3 separate regions of the Homo sapiens genome follow, and regions 1 and 3 are each linked to region 2. Evidence: promoter capture Hi-C in human tissues and cell types (Jung and others, 2019). All regions are on one chromosome and are shown on one strand. The core of a region is centred on a gene start or on the middle of the fragment in contact, and the rest is flanking DNA. Distances in the headings are between cores, read along the strand shown. Region 1 has its middle 38 kb from the start of ZNF823. Region 2 holds the start of ZNF791 (zinc finger protein 791). Region 3 has its middle 8.8 kb from the start of ZNF763.

Region 1 (3,565 bases), core at 594-3,093, 910 kb after region 2:
TGATCTTATGAAAGATCATTTATATGTGATGATTCACTTCTTTCTTGCTGCCTTCAAGGTTCTCCCTTTATGTTTGGCTTTGACAATTTGAGTATAATATGTCTTCATGTCCTTCTCTTTGCATTCATCCTACCTGGAGTTCATTGAGCTTCTTGGATGACAGCATTCATTCATGGCTTTTATCTAATTTGGAATATTTGCAGCTATTATTTCTCCAAATAGTCTCCCCTGACCTTTCTCTGTCTCTTCTCCTTCTGAAACTCCCACAGTGCATATATTGGCCTGCCTGATGCTGTCTCACACGTCTCACCTGACTGCCACACCTATGTCTAGCTTATTACCAGGTCAGGGCTCTGTAGAGAGTGGGTATCTGGCTATCTTGGTAGAGATTAACTTGGCAGAGGTAGAACCATAAGGGCATCTGCCAGTATAATCAAGTTTCCTGTGAAGGACATTTGGTTATGGGTTAACACTTAAATATTAGACCCCATGAAAGTCACACTGTAAATATCCACAACCAAGTGTCCTGGAGCCCCGTCAATGCAGCACTAAAGTTCTTTTTGTTTGTTTTTGTTTTTGCTTTTTTTGAGACAGAGTCTCACTCAGTGGCCCAGGCTGGTGTGCAGTGGTGCAATCTCGGCTCACTGCAAGCTCTGCCTCCCGGGTTCACGCCATTCTCCTGCCTCAGCTTCCTGAGTAGCTGGGACTACAGGCGCCCGCCACCATGCCTGGCTAATTTTTTGTATTTTTTTTAGTAGAGACTGGGTTTCACCAGGTTAGCCAGGATGGTCTTGATCTCCTGACCTTGTGATCCGCCCGCCTCGGCCTCCCAAAGTGCTGGGATTACAGGCATGAGCTACCCCGCCTGGCCAGCACTAAAGTTTATAGCCACGCTTCTGAGAGAGATCCCGAGGCCAAATTAGAGGAAAACACTCCATGTGCAGCTGCCTGCAACAGGGGTAAGGGTGGGGATGATAGCTTGTATTGTGCTAAGTGATAAAATGACCACAATTAGCCATAGTTTACTGTCTAATCCTTTTTATGGAAGTTGCAAAGCTTCAATAGCCTCCACAGTTATAACATTGCTACATCAGATGATTCTGTCAGTCCAGTGGTTGTCTAGGTGGGGAGACAGCTTTTTTTTTTTTTTTAAGACAGAGTTTCGCTCTTGTTGCCCAGGCTGGAGTGCAATGGTGCGATCTCGGCTCACCGCAACCTCTGCCTCCCGGGTTCAAGCGATTCTCCTGCCTCAGCCTCCCAAGTAGCTGGGATTACAGGCATGCACCACCGCACCCGGCTAATTTTGTATTTTTAGTAGAGATGAGGTTTCTCCACATTGGTCAGGCTGGTCTCGAATTCCCGACCCCGGGTGATCTGCCCACCTCAGCCTCCCAAAGTGCTGGGATTATAGCTGTGAGCCACCACACCCGGCTGAGACAGCTTGGTTTTGTTTTTGTTTTTGTTTTTGCTTTTGTTTTTAGATGGAGTCTCGCTCTGTCGGCTGGAGTGCAGTGGTGCAATCTCTGCTCACTGCAACCTCTGACACCCGGGTTCAAGCGATTCTCCTGCCTCAGCCTCCCAAGTAGCTGGGATTACAGGTGCAGGCCACCATGCCCAGCTAAATTTTGTATTTTTAGTAGAGACGGAGTTTCACCATGCTGGTCAGGCTGGTCTCAAACTCCTGACCTCATGATCTGCCCGCCTCAGTCTCCCAAAGTGCTGGGATTACAAGCGTGAGCCACTGCGCCCGGCCTGAGAAAGCTTTTTTATGCTTGCTACTCTGCCATCTTCCCTGAATCCTCTGCCCTAACGTTTTACTGCCCTAATATATTATTTCAGGTCTCACAGTAAATGTCACCATCTCAGAGAGAATCCTTTGTACCACCTCAGTTACTCCTACATCTTTCCGTTTGTAGAGATATTTCCTTGCACTTCTCATATTCAGAGAAATTCAGTTAAGATTCACAGACTTTTTTGCTCTCCCTCTCTCTCTTTCTCTTTCTTTCTTTCTTTGGTGGAGACAGGGTGTCACTAGGTTGCCCAGGCTCCAGGCTGGTCTCAAACTCCTTGGCTCAAGTGATCCTCCAGCCTCGACCTCCCGAAGTGCTAGGATTACAGAGGTGAGCCACTGTGCATGGACTTATTTGCTTTTTTAACCTAGGAAAAGTTAAATCATAAAAATGAAACCAGGTTGGCCACAGTGGCTCACACCTGTAATCCTAACACTTTGGGAGGCCGAGGCAAGAGGACCACTTGAGCCCAGAGTTCAAGACCACCTGGGCAACATAGTGAGACCCCTACCTCTACAAATAACTTTTTAAAAAATAAGCCAGGCATGGTGGTACACACCCGTGGTCCCAGCTAACTGGAGGTTGAGGCAGGAGCATCACTGGAGCCCAGGAGGTTGAGGCTGCAGTGAGCTGTGATCGTGACAATGCACTCCTGCCTGGGCAATAGAGTGAGACCCTGTCTCAAAGAAAAAAAAAAAGAAAGAAAATGAAACAAAATTGAATGGTGTTACCTTTACTTCTATCATCTATATTGTGCTATGTAAAACTCCAAAATTCTGTTTTTAGCCATTTTCCAGAAGTGAAAATAAGAAGCTCCCTCTTGTGGTAAGGATGGCATTAACATCCTCTCTGGGCTGTGGATTTCTCCAGGTTGTGCTGAGACTCCAGAATTTACAGCAGGTGATAGTCAGCTTAGAATATTCTGTCTGTGCCCTCAATGAACAGGTGGCGACATGGGTTAGGAAGAACAGAAGCAAATAAAGGGAATGTGGTCATCATACAAGATATCACAGTCGATCCTGGAAGATAGTTTCAAATGAATAATTGAAATTGAGGGAAATGAGAGAGCCACAGGTGGATTCAACCTGGGCCAGCTGGACTGCTGAAAGGGAAGAGGTATTTATACAATGCTTAGAATTTAGCTGCAGAAATGATTGGATGGGTCAGTGGTGATGGAGTGGGGTTGAGAGTTTCAGATGGGTAAACTGAACATGTCCATTACCAGGTACAGAGCACGTGATGACAACCATGAACTGTGAAGGTTGGGGAGCTGCTGAAACAGAGGAAAAAGGGGAGAGTTCACTTTTGATTAGTGTGTGCGTGTGCGTGTGTGTGTTTTTGTTTTTTTTGTTTTGTGACAGAGCCTCGCTCTTTCACCCAGGCTGGGGTGCAGTGGCTCAATCTCGGCTCACTACAACCTCCACCTCCCCAGGTTCAAGTGATTCTCGTGCCTTAGCCTCCCAAGCAGCTGGGATTACAGGCATGCACGACCACACCCTGCTAATTTTTGTATTTTTAGTACAGATGGGGTTTCACCATGTTGACCAGACTGGTCTTGAACTCCTGACCTCAAGTGATCTGCCCACCTTGGCCTCCCAAAGTGCTGGGATTACAGGCGTGAGCCACCGTGCCCAGCCTGATTAGTTGTTTTATACAACTGTTAGGAGGAAAATAACAGTTTGTTTTCTCAAAGGAATAATTATATCCAGGTGGTTTTTAATTTTTTTTCTTTTTTTCGAGACAGAGTCTGGCTCTGTCACCCAGGCTGGAGTGTA
Region 2 (3,511 bases), core at 63-2,562:
CCCCATCTGTTAAAAAAAAAAAAAAGAAAATAATAATGTCAGTTAATTATTTCCATGGCAATAAATAGTTTACAAAAGTATTACTTCTATCTGAATGCTTCTAGATGTTGCAAGTTTAAGTCCTGGAATACCATCTGAAACATCAAACTAAAAGAACAGACCTGAGAAACATATTCCATGTGCTCAGGGAAAGAACAAAGAATTTTTAACAAATGTAATATTGGGATGTTTTTTGTTTTCTGAGATTCATTTCTTTTTTGCCCTTTGGAAATATTTTGTACTGTCTCTCAAGTTCTTCTGATAACATATATTTTATATTTATTGGAAAAATGACATTCGAGTGAATAAATCTTTTCAAGGTCATAAACCCAAGGCGGGACAGTGCCAATCTGAAACTGTGCTGAAAAGATAGATTACCCAGGAAAGTTTACAAAAAGGAACCTCAACGCAAAGGAGTTCCCATAGGATGTCTGTGCCCTGGAAAGGTACCAGGATGAGGGCCACAGCATTTTATGCAGATTAGTTCCAAGTGAATAATTTTTCTGATTTTTCTCTGATGTAAAATATCCACAAACAAGAAATAAATCGTTTAAAAGAGGCATCTATTGGAAAAAAGATTATTAAAATACTGCGTGTGTTTGAAATGCACCACACAGGACAAAGAGTTGGTGACGATGTTTTCCACTGGCGAGCGGAAGTAGGCGTTTGGGAATTCGGGGAGGGATCCGGAAATCTAGGGATTAATGGCCCGCCGTGGGAGGAGCTAGGCTGGGGGGACAGGGTAGTGGATTTGAGACTCTGCTTCCAACATCTTTGGAAGACTCAGGGGGAAACAGCCTTTGGGAAGAAAGAAGGGACTGGGAACCCCAGACTGTAGCTCCTCCCACACAAACCAAACACACAAGGCGGGATTCTCCCCAGGACCCTCCCGTGGTCCCTGCACGATCTGGGAAAGACGCGGGGCTGCGGGCGCGGAGTTGTCCAGAGAGGGCTCCGGGGCTGGGACCGCAGTCGCCGCGCAGGGACGGGACAGGACGCTTGGAGTTCCAGCTGCCAGCCCAGCCCCACACTGCGGCCGGAGGTGACCGTGGGGAGGCCCGGGTCCCGCGATCACGGCCGGTTCCAACTAGTCCGGCCCTGCACACTCACCATTTTCCGGCCTCGCGGGTGTCCCGGTGTTGTCCCTAAGGTTCACGGAGCCAGCGCAGGGTACAGCGCATCCGATGCAGGGGTACAGCAACCTGACGCGTCAAGGGGCCAGGAGACCCCAAGCTAAGCACAACCCGATCGCACAGTGACGTAGCACGCATTTGCGCAGCGTAGCCGTACCCTCCTTTCCGGCGCCGCCCCTGATTGGACAATTATACAGCCCCGCCCCTTTTTGTCCGAATGACAGCTAGGCAGCAGGTCTAGTAGCTAGGCAGATCTCGCTTCCGCCGGTGGGACGGAACTGGTGCCCTCCGTGGACAATTGTGTTGAAGCAGAAATTGTTCCGGATCTCGGGTCGGACACGGAAGTCTTCCTGCAGTGTTTCTGGATGCGGGGACAGGGATGCGCAGGAATTCCAGTCTCAGTTTCCAGATGGAGCGACCCCTCGAGGAGCAAGTCCAGAGCAAGTGGTCGTCTAGTCAAGGCCGCACAGGAACAGGAGGGTCTGATGTCCTCCAGGTACCAGGGGCTTGGCATAATGTTGTAAGGCCTCTCGTGGAATAGTGACCCTTGTTTATAAACAGACGGTTACCCCATCATGTGTAATAAAAAGTGTGGTTGCATTTTAATCTTTGACCATAACAGCGTTGAGGCGTCCACCTTTCTTTTCCCCACCTCCACACATTTGGCACTTTAGAAAAGGAACCCCAAGGCAGGGCTTGGTGGCGCACACCCGTAGTCCCAGCTACTGCGTGGTGGGGGCGGTGGGGGAGGTCGGGGGGTGGGTGGGCTGAGGCGGGTGGATCGCTTGACTCCAGGAGTTTGAGTTCAGTCTGGGCAACATGGCCAGAACCCATCCCAAGAAAAAAAAAAAAAGGAAAGAAAGAAAAAACAATCCGTAGGACACCCGAGCACTTGGCTCGGGTGGTAAATTGCAACCCTAACCTGGGCACAGGGACTCTTCAGACCAATCACGATCTATGAGACGTGCTCAGTAAACTGCGTTTTACTCTGGAAGGAAATGGTTTGTTTTCGTTGTTTTTTTGTTTGTTTGTTTTTAGTTTAAGCATGTTTTTATTGCTTTTCATTTTTATTTTTATTTTTGTAGATTTATGGTTACAAATGCACTTGTGTTACGTGGATATATTTCATAGTGGCGAAGTCTGGCTTTTAGTGCACCCATCACCCAAAGAGTGTATATTGTACCCAATAGGTAATATTTCATCCCTCATCCCCCCTCTCTGTCCAACCTATTGGCATCTCCAGTGTCTATTATTCCATTCTGTATGTCCATGTTTACCCATTGTTTAGCTCCCACTTATATGTAAGAAGATGCAGTTTTTGACTTTCTGTTTTTGCATCATCGCACTTAGGATAATGGCCTCCAGTTCCATCCGTGTTGCTGTAAAGTGGAAGGAAATTTATCTCAAATAAGTTTTCTAAAGTGTCCCTACAGAACTTGGAAAGACCAAGAGCCCAAAACCAGCCTGGGCAACATAGCGAGACCCCATTTCTCAAAAAATTTTTAAAAATTAGCTGGGTATGGTGTTCACCTGTAGTCCTAGCTCCTTCGGAGGCTGAGGCAGAAGGATCTCAAGGCTAAGAGTTTGAGGTTACAGTGAGCCAAGATTGTGCCACTGCATTCCAGCCTGGGAGAGAGAGAGACTGTCTCTAAATTTTTTTTTTAAAGTAGAAACATATTTCATTTTTCCCATTATAGAGGAGACAGTGTAATCTTGAAAACTCCCATGATCCACCCTTCTGGTAGCTCTGTGTGTACAGGTAGATGCAGGGGGAACAATGCTTCCAAGGCTGTCAAAGGTCATGTTTAGTTCTAAATTGCTGAAACTCACAAAATGCATCCTCTTGTTTCTAATTAGATGCAGAACAGTGAACACCATGGACAAAGCATCAAGACTCAAACTGTAAGTGAGATCGCTACCTGTCAGCGTGGCTACCTTCCTTGTTTATAATGACCATTTGGGTCTGTCCTTCTATGACCTCTTTGTGGGGGGGTCTTTCGGGTCTTTGTGAAGGCACTCCCATAGTCAAGGCCAATAACCAGGCTCTCAGGTATGTCCTGTTCATTGCCCTCACCCTGTACTTCCATTGTCCCTTACCTTCATTGGCCATCCCAACACAGCCACCTGCATCCTTTGGAATATCACATTTGGGCTGGGTGCAGTGGCTCATGCCTGTAATCCTGGCACTTTGGGAGACTGAGGTAGGAGGATTGCTTGAGTTCAGGAGTTTGAGACCAGTGTGGGCAATGTAGTGAGACTCTGTCTCTACAAAAAATAAAAAAAATGGCTGGGTGTAGTAGCTCATGCCTGTAATCTCAGCACTTTGGGAGGCAAGGTGG
Region 3 (3,472 bases), core at 478-2,977, 650 kb after region 2:
ATTAGGTGAACAGTTTTCTCTTTAGTGATCTTTAGTCAAAATGAAATATCTATCTACCAAAGCATGCTTCAGTTTCTCTCCTTCCTCCAGGTCCCTGAACTTTTTTCTTTTTTTGAGACAGTCTTGTTCTGTAGCCCAGGCTGGAGTGCAGTAGCATGATCTTGGCTCACTGCAACCTCCGCCTCCCTGGTTCAAGTGATTCTCATGCCTCAGTCACCAGACTAGCTGGTGTTACAGGTGTGTGCCACCACACCCAGCTAATTTTTATATTTTTCATAGAGATGGTGTTTCACCATGCTGGCCAGGGTGGTCTTGAACTCCTGATCTCAAGTGATCTGCCCATCTCAGCCTCCCAAAGTGCTGGGATTACAGGCATGAGCCACCACACCCAGCCACCCCTGAATTTTTGACTGATCCCTTCTAGGCTTATATGCAACCCCACTTTATGTATTTATTTAATATTTTTATTTTTACTTGCAAGTTCAGTACCTAGACTCTTTTTATGACCTCTCCTAATGACAAGCTGATTTCAGGGTCATTAAGGTAATTAAAAGTTACTTCTTGGCTGAGCACGGTGGCTCACGCCTGTAATCCCAGCACTTTGGGAGGCCGAAGCAGGCAGATCACGAGGTCAGGAGATTGAGATCATCCTGGCTAACATGGTGAAACCCCATCTCTACTAAAAAAAATAGAAAAAATTAACTGGGCATGGTGGCGGGCGCCTGTAGTCCCAGCTACTCGGGAGGCTGAGGTAGGAGAATGGCATGAAACCGGGAGGTGGAGGTTGCAGTGAGCTGAGATCGTGCCACTGCACTCCAGCCTGGGCGACAGAGCGAGACCCCATCTCAAAAAAAAAAAAAAAAAACTTATTTCTTACTGAAACCTACATTTGTTTCACTAGAAACGTCTAGGAAAAGCTCCATGACAAAAACTGTCACTTGCGGAGGGCATCACTGAGTACTGTATCTGCCTGTGGATCCCTAGCTTTCCAGGGATCTGAGGTTCTGTCAGTATAAAGCGCTCCTCCCATGGTCAATTTGAGCAGCTGAAAACACCTGCAGTGGGAGCACCATGGGAAGAACCAGGTGAGCTTTATTTATTTTTTTGGAGAGTCTTGCTCAGTCATCCAATCTGAAGTGCAATGGTGTGATCTTGGCTCACTGCAGCCTCCGCCCCGAGTTCAAGCAGTTCTCATGCCTCAGCCTCCCGAATGGCTGAGATTACAGGCTTGAGCCCCTACACCTGGCTAATTTTTGTATTTTTAGTAGAGATGGGGTTTCGCCATTTTGGCCAGGTTGGTATCAAACTCCTTACCTGAGATGCTCCATCTGCCTTGGCCTCCCAAAGTGCTGGGATTACAGGTGTGAGCCACTGCGCCTGGTGTGAGCTTTCAATGACCTCTCTTTGTAGGTTTCTCACTGGCTTTAGTTTGCAGTCACTGGACTCAGGCCTCTGTTTCAATGAGAAAATACCCAGTGTTTGAAGAATCCGGCAAAATCTCTCAAACTCGGTTTATTATAGGCTGGAAGGAAATTATAAGGCACTTACCTATCACCCCTCATCAGGGAAAGTATCTAACCCTTTCACTCAATAAACATATTGAGAAATGTGTTTACGCTACCATGTAATTGCTCCTTCCGTGTGCATGTCAAAAAGATTAACTCTCTTCCTTGTTCTTGGGCTATAAGTCATTAGAAAACACTGAGAAGTGCCAGAGGTAGGATCCTTTTGATACCACTACCCCTCCTTACAAAAAGTTAAAGCAATCATCCTTGAAATTTGGTAAGCTGCAATTTGGCAAGCGGCAACCAATGAAATCATTGAAATATATGCATTGGCTTTGTATGGAAAATGTAACCCTATTAAGCATCTTCATTTTGCCCTACAGAAGTGAAGACTTAACTTCTCCAGTTAAGAGTGGGAGCAGTGACCCCACTCTTCAGGATGTGTTTCCCCAGTGGCTACCCTCAAACTTTGTGTTCACATAAACTCAATATTTAATCATATTATCTGAATTTTATTATCTTATTAAGGTGGACATTATTACTTCATTATGATTTCCATAACAAAGCACATACTACACATTAACCATATGTGAATATAAACATATCACAACAGTTGCCAGCCAGGTCTTACCCCACAGATAACAGGAAGAGAAGAGTTATCCACCGTTACAAGTTCTCCAACCTGCAAAGGAGGACTGATATTTTTCCGAATCTTTGTAATTCACTGATTATCTACTATACTTTGTTGTAGAAGTTTATTCCTTTTCTCCAGCTGTAATAAAAGATTTTCCCTATTTCTTTTCCCAAGCAGCATTCCCAAAGCTAAGCCCTGAAACTGTTAGAAATGATGCATAAATGGCCAGGCACGGTGGCTCACACCTGTAATCCCAGCACTTTGGGCATGGTGGCGTGCACCTGTGGTCTCAGCTATTAGGGAGGCTGAGGTGGAAGGATAGCTTAAGCCTGGAAGATGAAGGCTGCAGTGAGCTGAGATTGTGCCACTGCATTCCAGCCTGGGCACCAGAGCCAGACCTTGTCTCAAAAAAAAAAAAAAAGAAAGAAAGAAAAAGAAATCATCCACGAAAAAGGATAGACCAAGAAATGTACTACACGGCCTCTAAGGAAGAAAAAAATTAAACAAGAATTTTCAGGCTGGGCACGGTATCTCACGCCTGTATCCCAGCATTTTCGGATGCCGAGGTGGGCGGATCACAAGGTCAGGAATTTGAGACCAGCTTACCCAATATGGTGAAATCCAGTCTCTACTAAAAATACAAAAATTAGCCAGGCATGGTGGTATGCGCCTGTAGTCCCAGCTACTCAGGAGGCTGAGGCAGGAGAATCACTTGAACCTGGGAGGCAGAAGTTGCAGTGAGCCAAGATTGAGCCATTGCATTCCAGCCTGGGCAACAAGAGTAAAGCTTTGTCTCAAAAAAAAAAAAAAAAAAAAAAAAATTTTTTTGAAACAAACTCTATATAAGACAAATGATATTTTTCTGAAATCTGTCTTTATCTGGGCTCTGTGCAAAATTTTCTTATCTTTCCAATTGTAATGAAAATGCAATTTACAATTCATTAAAAAAAATCTGAAGCTGCAATAAGTGAACAATTTTTTTTGTTTTTTGTTTTTTAACAAAGGCCCTCACTCAATTACCCAGGCTGGAGTGCAGGGGCACAATCACAGCTCACTGCAGCATCAACCTCCCAGGCTTTGGTTCTCCTTCTGCCTCAGCCTCCTGGATATGGTATGTGCCACCACATCCAGCTAATTTTTTGTATTTTTTGTAGAGAGAGGGAATCGTCATGTTGCTGTGGCTGGTCTTGAGCTCCTGGGCTCAAGTGATCCTCCTGCCTTGGCCTCCCAAATTGTTGGGATTACAGATGTGAGCCACTGTGCCCAGCAATGAATAATTCTTTATAAGGAGACAAACCTTGTCTGGGCATGGTGGCTCATGCCTCGAATCCCA

What was found. The method cuts DNA at HindIII sites, captures the fragments that hold promoters and counts their contacts. A contact is called where the count stands out against the background at its distance.
Region 1: a contact is called between a fragment that was not itself captured here and the fragment with the promoter of ZNF791 in region 2, in 1 of the 25 tissues and cell types used here (hippocampus).
Region 3: a fragment that was not itself captured here is called in contact with the fragment with the promoter of ZNF791 in region 2 in 1 of the 25 tissues and cell types used here (dorsolateral prefrontal cortex).

The regions. Positions count from the first base shown.
Region 1 is chr19:11,699,402-11,702,966 of GRCh38, reverse strand. No RefSeq gene overlaps it. Among named protein-coding and RNA genes, the nearest start is that of ZNF823, 38 kb to the left of the region's middle. The HindIII fragment of the contact is 5,071 bases long and covers 1-3,565 here.
Region 2 is chr19:12,608,721-12,612,231 of GRCh38, reverse strand. It overlaps ZNF791 (zinc finger protein 791), which reads right to left and starts at 1,312. Exons shown (of 4, transcript NM_153358.3): 1 at 1,150-1,312. The coding sequence starts at 1,152. It overlaps ZNF490 (zinc finger protein 490), which reads left to right and starts at 1,419. Exons shown (of 5, transcript NM_020714.3): 1 at 1,419-1,668; 2 at 3,030-3,074. The coding sequence starts at 1,552. RefSeq lists enhancers at 1,141-1,200, 1,531-1,750 and a silencer at 1,341-1,400. The HindIII fragment of the contact is 50,335 bases long and covers 1-3,511 here.
Region 3 is chr19:11,954,485-11,957,956 of GRCh38, reverse strand. It overlaps a transcript of ZNF69 not described here. Among named protein-coding and RNA genes, the nearest start is that of ZNF763, 8.8 kb to the left of the region's middle. The HindIII fragment of the contact is 4,304 bases long and covers 1-3,472 here.